Regions from separate parts of the Homo sapiens genome. Here region 1 is linked to region 2. Evidence: promoter capture Hi-C in human tissues and cell types (Jung and others, 2019). All regions are on one chromosome and are shown on one strand. Each heading gives the region's core, a stretch centred on a gene start or on the middle of the fragment in contact. The rest is flanking DNA. Distances are from core to core; before and after follow the strand shown.

Region 1 (3,176 bases), core at 579-3,078, 83 kb before region 2:
ATAGATGTGTACACCAATACGCCCAGCTAATTTTCGTATTTTTTTGTAGAGACAGGGTGTTACCACATTGCCCAGGCTGGTCTCAAACTTCTGGGCTCAAAAGATCCACCTGCCTCAGCCTCCCAAAATGCTGGGACTATAGGTTTGAGCCACCGCACCCAGCTCTATGCTTTTTTTTTTTTTTTTTAACAGAGTACAGGAAGGGTTAGATGGTCCTCTACCCTTCCACAGAGTGTGGGAGAACCACTATCCTCCTGATCCTCCATCCCGTCTAAGGAGATGAGAATTCAAAGGGAAGATCACAACAGTCCCTCAAAATACACATTAAAAATTATGAGGGTGCCGTGGCTCACGCCAGTAACCCCAGGACTTTGGGAGGCCAAGACAGGTGGATCACTTGAGCTCAGGATTTCGAGACCAGCCTAGGCAACATGGCGAGACCCCCCCATCTCTACAAAAAACACGAAAATCAGCCAGGCATGGTGGTGGTGCACGCTTGTAGTCCCAGTGACTCCGGAGGCTGAGGTGGTAGGATCACTTGAGGTGGGAGGTTGAGTGCGCCGTGATGGAACTACTGCGCTCCAGCCTGAGAGCCAGAGCAAGACCCTGTCTCAAAAAAAAGAAAAACAAAAATCATGAAGTCAACTATTTGCTGGATAACAAGGAAAAAAATCAACGCAGCAGACAGGAAACTGGCTTTGTTTCTCCCTCAAATTAAATAAGGAGATGGCCTCTGAAAGCCAAGAGGAGGTTCTGCACACCAAAGTCAAATTAATTGGTGGACCGGTGCACCCACCCAGCCACCCTGCACATCCTTCTAACAGGCCCAGCCTTCCTGGCTTGTTTAACGGTTTGGTGTGGATTTTTCCCACCCCGAGGGGACAGGCACGGGGCTGAGAACGAGGTCTGTGATTGGAGCAGCAGGCAGCGAGGCCATCCCACACCCCGACTGCTGCTCGTGTCCAGATTCCCTCCGGGAATGAGTCATTTTAATCGTCGTAGGTGAGATCTAATCAGGGGTTAATAAGCCTCCAGAACCCAGGTCACAAAGCTGTTTCCTGGGAAGACACTGATTTCCAGATTTCTGCTCCCAAAGCTAAAATCCACGCCGTTTTGGAAAACGCTGGGTTAAACGCTCCAGTACTAGAAAGACCAAGGTGACATCATGCTGGGGAGGGGCGTCTTGGCCCGGAACCCCCTTGGTGGTGCCGCAGCCCCCCGCACGGACCAGCAAACGGGAGTGGAGATGTGGATGAAGGGCCGTGCCCTAAACCCCTAGACCCCGCACCCCTAGACCCTGGACACCCCACCCCGCACCCCCAGACCCAGGGCCCCGCTCTGCATCCTGACCCGCACCCCCATACCCGATACCCCAAGACTCTGAGCGCCGCCCGCACCCCCAGACCCTGGACCCCCACCCCGCACCCTGGCCCCCACCCCCAGACCCGGTACCCCAAGACCCCGAGCGCCGCCCGCACCCTCAGGCCCCGGGCCCCGCCCGCATCCCAGCCTGCACCCCCGCCTCGAGGCCCCGCCCCGGGCCTCCGCTCCCAGACCCCGTCTCCGCCGGCGGCCCCGGCCCCGGCCCCACGCCGCCCCCGCCACTCACAGTTGCGGATATCCGAGATGAAGACCGCCAGGCCCCGCATCCCGTCCCCCTTGGACACGGCCGGCATCTTCCGACGCTCGGGAGCGGCCTCGGCTGGCGGACCCGGGCGGAGGAGCGCGGGGAGCGGGAAGCGGGGAGTGCGGTCGCCGTCACCGCCGCGGAGGAGCCGCCGGGGAGCCGCCTAACCACGGCCGCCTCAGGGTCCCAGCGCCGCTTTCTGGGCCGCCGCGCGCGCGCACGTACGGCGCCCGCACCAGCACGCACGCGCACGCACGCGAGCGACGACGGACGGCGGCCGGGGCGGGTGTCGCGTGAGGCAGCGCGCGCGCGTCCGCGGCACGGGGGCGAGCCGGTCGAGGCAGGCGCGGGGGCGCCCCCTGCAGGCGGACACCATGGACGGAGCCGCTGAAGCCACGCGTTCGCGTCCCGGGGCCGCGCCAAGCTGGCGATGCCGCCCGCGTCCCCCACGGGAAGGGCGTGGGTCCGGGCGGGAACCCGCGTGTGCAGCGGGCCGCCTCTGTCGTTGTTGGTGGTCACTGCAAAAGAGGCGGCCACGCAGGCACACGCGTACGGCCTCGTCCTGGGCCTCGGCCCCGCTAGCTTGCCCCGAGCAGTCTCCGTTTTCTTACTTGGAATAAACGACCTGTGAGCGCTGGGCGGCGGGGCAGCTCCGAGGCCAGGGCCTTGTTTGTTCCGCGGGGGCCGGGGCGGGAGGGCGGCGCCGGGAGGAAGCTGGGGCTCCAGGCGAAGGGGTCACAGCCGCTGGACGGCCTTTGGCGAGGAAACCCTCCCCTAGCACGGTATCCTGAGACGGTGGGGCTGGCCCGCCCCTCCTGCCGCCCTGAGCCGCCAGGGCCACATCTCTTGCGGTCCCTGAGCTGGGGGCGAGGCAGGCCCCGTGCCCGACCCAGCCCAGGGTCTGTGTGGCAGCCCAGGTGCCCCCTCCACATCACCTGGGCCTGCAGAGAAACAACCACCCACCCCACCCCAGTGACAGCGGCCGGGGGCGGCAGCCCCTGCGGAATCTAGTCCCTCGGCGGCGCCAGGACTTTTGGCCACTGTTGCCAGGGCCCCCTCTGCTCCCCAGCCCTCTGCACCACTGCAAGCTGGAGGCCTAGGCCCACCCCTGTGGACACATCGCAAGGGAGGACCTGCTGGGCCAGGCTGCACAGCTCCAGGTCCCGGCCAGGAAGAGACCCCAGGGAGTGGGGAAGCAGATGGCCCTGCCTCACTGTCCTTCCCAGAGCCAGATGGCTTTGAACAGGAAGCTCCCTCCTGCTGCAGTGGGGGGATCTGGACCCTGTACCTGGAACTGGCCCAGACCCACCAGCCAGGGCTTTGTCCCCACCCTGGCTCACTTCCGCAGCCCCAGATGAGAGCTTAGCCCTGGTGGAGCCCGGCCAGGAGGAGGGCACAGGACCCATGCCCCTCCCCAATGAACCGGGTGCCGCACCCAGGCTCTGGGCCTCCAGAACTCCTGGGGAAAACCAAGATCTGTGACAGACCCCAGTCAGCATAAGGCAACCAAGTCCATCACTTCCCAAGACAGAGGCACGGAGCCGACCCA
Region 2 (3,025 bases), core at 4-2,503:
CCAGAGCCCCCCATGGGTGCCGCTTTGCGGCCCACCCACCCCCACAGCCCACCTCGCACCTCCAAGGAGCCTTCTTTGCCTCTCACTGCACACCGACCCCCCATTTCCTCACCCCCACCCCAGGGGCACAGCAAGAAGGGTGCTGGTGCCAGCCCCCCCGCACTCCATCCGAGAGACACGGGCTCCTCGTCCCTCGTCGTCCGTAGGCCCTGAGCTCCAGGGCAAGCCAGAGCTGAGGCCTTCAGGGGGTCCTGCCAGTGCAGCCTCCGGGAGTCTGCCCAGGGATCCCCTGTGCCGGGGTCTTCCAGGTTCAGCTCAAAAAGCACCTCTTCCACGACTCCCTCCCCGACCTCCCTCCCGGGTCCCCTCTCCCCGTGCTCAGAGGCGCGTCTGAGCGTCGGGAGCTCGGGACGGCGAGCAGCCAGCAGAGCCGGGACCCGGGAGGGCGCACCCCGACCCCATTCCCGGGAAAGAGCGGAAAGAACGCGGACAGGAGCCCGGGGCGGGGAGCTGCCGGCGGGGGCTGTAATTGCGCAGCTGAGGCCAGGGCGGCGCCCCTAGGGGCTGGGCCGCGTCCAGAATGGGACCCCCGAACTCAGCGCCGAGAGCCCCGGACACCCCGCGGGCAGAGGCCGAGGCGGAGGAACCCACTACTCGGCGCGGCCAGGAGGGGCGGCAGGAAGACCCGCCCCGGCCCCCGCCCGCCCTCTCCCCGAGCCCCCGCGCCGGACCCCACTTGTTGCTGCGTGTCGGCTCTGGGCTCGAACTCGCGCGCCCCGCTCGCGTCCGGCTCCAGCCGCTCCCGGTCGGACACCTCCGGCCACGGGACCCTGGCCGCACGCCCCCACAACCCCCAGGCGCAGTACCTGCGCCGCCGCCTCCCGCTCGCGCCGCCCGCTCCCGCCGCGCAGCTGTCAGTCAAGCGGACACGAGAAACGCGAACCGCCGCCGCAGCTTTACGGCCCTGCTCAGACGCCGTAGCGCCGGGATGCACCAAGACGGTGGGCGGGGGTGTGCGGTCTGCTGCTGCCGCGGCCGCGCGGGCCCGGGAGCCCCGGGACGCACAGGCCCAGGAGCCCCGGGACGCACGGGAAGCCCCTATCGCGGCGGAAACTGCGGCCAGCGGTGGCGGGGCCGGTGGAGGGACGGCCGGAACAGCGGAGAACGAGCGGAGCCGATTCTCCCGCAACAGTGGACGCGCCCGGGGCGGGGCCTGGGGGGGTTCTTCGCGTGCGGCCGGGCCGGGCCGGGCAGTCTGGGACGCGCCGCCGCCATGATCATCCCTGTACGCTGCTTCACTTGTGGCAAGATCGTCGGCAACAAGTGGGAGGCTTACCTGGGGCTGCTGCAGGCCGAGTACACCGAGGGGTGAGGCGCGGGCCGGGGCTAGGGGCTGAGTCCGCCGTGGGGCGCGGGCCGGGGCTGGGGGCTGAGTCCGCCCTGGGGTGCGCGCCGGGGCGGGAGGCGCAGCGCTGCCTGAGGCCAGCGCCCCATGAGCAGCTTCAGGCCCGGCTTCTCCAGCCCCGCTCTGTGATCTGCTTTCGGGAGAACCTTATCCCCTGAAGTCTGGGGAAGAGAACGGAGTTGGGCTTCAAACCAGTGGTGTCCTGGGGATTCTAGGTGGCCTGGCGGGTCGCAGGCGTCTTGTCACCCGCAGTAAAGCCCTTGGCCTCCGCCCTATTCCCATCTCTGCCCCCAGGCCCACCCCATGTCCTGCAAACCTCGCTGCAGGACGGGCGGGCGCGGCGGCTGACATCTGTAATCCCAGCAGTTTGGGAGGCCGAGGCGAGAGGCTTGCTTGAGCCCAGGAGGTCGAGACCAGCCTGGACAACCTGGGGAGACCCTGATCTCCAGAAATTTATTTTATTTTATTTTTCTTTTTTGAGACGGAGTCTCGCTCCGTCGCCCAGGTTGGAGTGCAGTGGCGCGATCTCGGCTCACTGCAACCCCCGCCTCCTGGGCTCCAGCAATTCTCCTGTCTCAGCCTCCCGAGTAGCTGGGACTACAGGCGTGTGCCACCACGCCCGGCTAATTTTTGTATTTTCAGTAGAGATGGGATTTCGCCATGTTGGCCAGGCTGGTCTGGAACTCCTGACCTCAGGTGATCCACCCGCCTCGACCTCCCAAAGTGCTGAGGTTACAGGCGTGAGCCACCGCGCCTGGCTCTATCTTTTTAATTCGCCGGACATGGCGGTGCACACCTGTGGTCCCAGCTACTTGGGAGGCTGAGACGAGAAAATCGCTTGAGTCTGGGAGGCAGGTGGAGGTTGCAGTGAGCCAAGATCACGCCACTGCACTCCAGCCTGGAAGAGAGAGTGAAACTCCGTCTCACGCACACACACACACAGAAAAAGAAATGCAGGGTAGACTTGCTGACCACCCTCATCAGGCTTTGTAGGGGAGGCGTCTTTCTCCTGTGCTTGTCCCTTGGTGCTGCTGTCACCACGGTGCCTGAGTCTTGGTGCCCCCGCTGGAGTCTGACCCTCGCCCACTGAGTCTTCGTCACATGTGAAGCCCTGGGCTTGTGTGCGCCAGCCTGCCATCGGCACTTGGTGCAGCTTGCTGGACAAACGAGGAAAGCGAGTGGGCTGCTAGACTGAGTGGCTGGCGGCCTGTCCAGACCCTTTCCCCGGATAGGAACGGCAGGGGCCTCCCATGTGGCCTCCCCTTTCCCAAGCTTCTGTGTCTCTGCACATTGGAGCCATCGGTGTGGGAGTTTTCTGGAGGTCTTGAGGGTGACTGGAGCTAGGTCCCAGGGAAATGAAAGCTTCTAATTGGCTTGGGAAGTGGGAGAGGTGGCTCCGTGGAGAAGCAGTCTCTCTCTGATGGAAGGAAGCAGAGGTGAGGAAAGACCCCACAGCGGCAGAGCAGGGCTTGCTCTGGCTGGGGTGGGGGTGAACCAGCTAAGGGCAGGCCCCTGGAGAGCTACCCTGCCGTGGCCAGTGCTGGATGAGGTGGCTGCACATCAGCACCTTGGTGGTCTTGGTTTTCTAAGCTCCCCGCAATTACTTCGTTTTCATTTCAT

Evidence for each region. Contacts are between HindIII fragments. The study calls those that stand out against the background at their distance.
Region 1: the fragment with the promoter of AP2A2 here is called in contact with the fragment with the promoter of POLR2L in region 2 in 11 of the 25 tissues and cell types used here (H1 embryonic stem cells, IMR-90 fibroblasts, adrenal gland and 8 more).

The regions. Positions count from the first base shown.
Region 1 is chr11:924,522-927,697 of GRCh38, reverse strand. It overlaps AP2A2 (adaptor related protein complex 2 subunit alpha 2), which reads right to left and starts at 1,828. Exons shown (of 22, transcript NM_012305.4): 1 at 1,610-1,828. The coding sequence starts at 1,676. RefSeq lists a silencer at 1,477-2,016. The HindIII fragment of the contact is 16,179 bases long and covers 1-3,176 here.
Region 2 is chr11:840,757-843,781 of GRCh38, reverse strand. It overlaps POLR2L (RNA polymerase II, I and III subunit L), which reads left to right and starts at 1,253. Exons shown (of 2, transcript NM_021128.5): 1 at 1,253-1,368. The coding sequence starts at 1,274. It overlaps TSPAN4 (tetraspanin 4), which reads right to left and starts at 930. Exons shown (of 9, transcript NM_003271.5): 1 at 867-930. RefSeq lists silencers at 258-426, 412-641, 662-751, 862-1,491 and enhancers at 760-1,503, 1,504-2,249, 2,250-2,994. The HindIII fragment of the contact is 28,886 bases long and covers 1-3,025 here.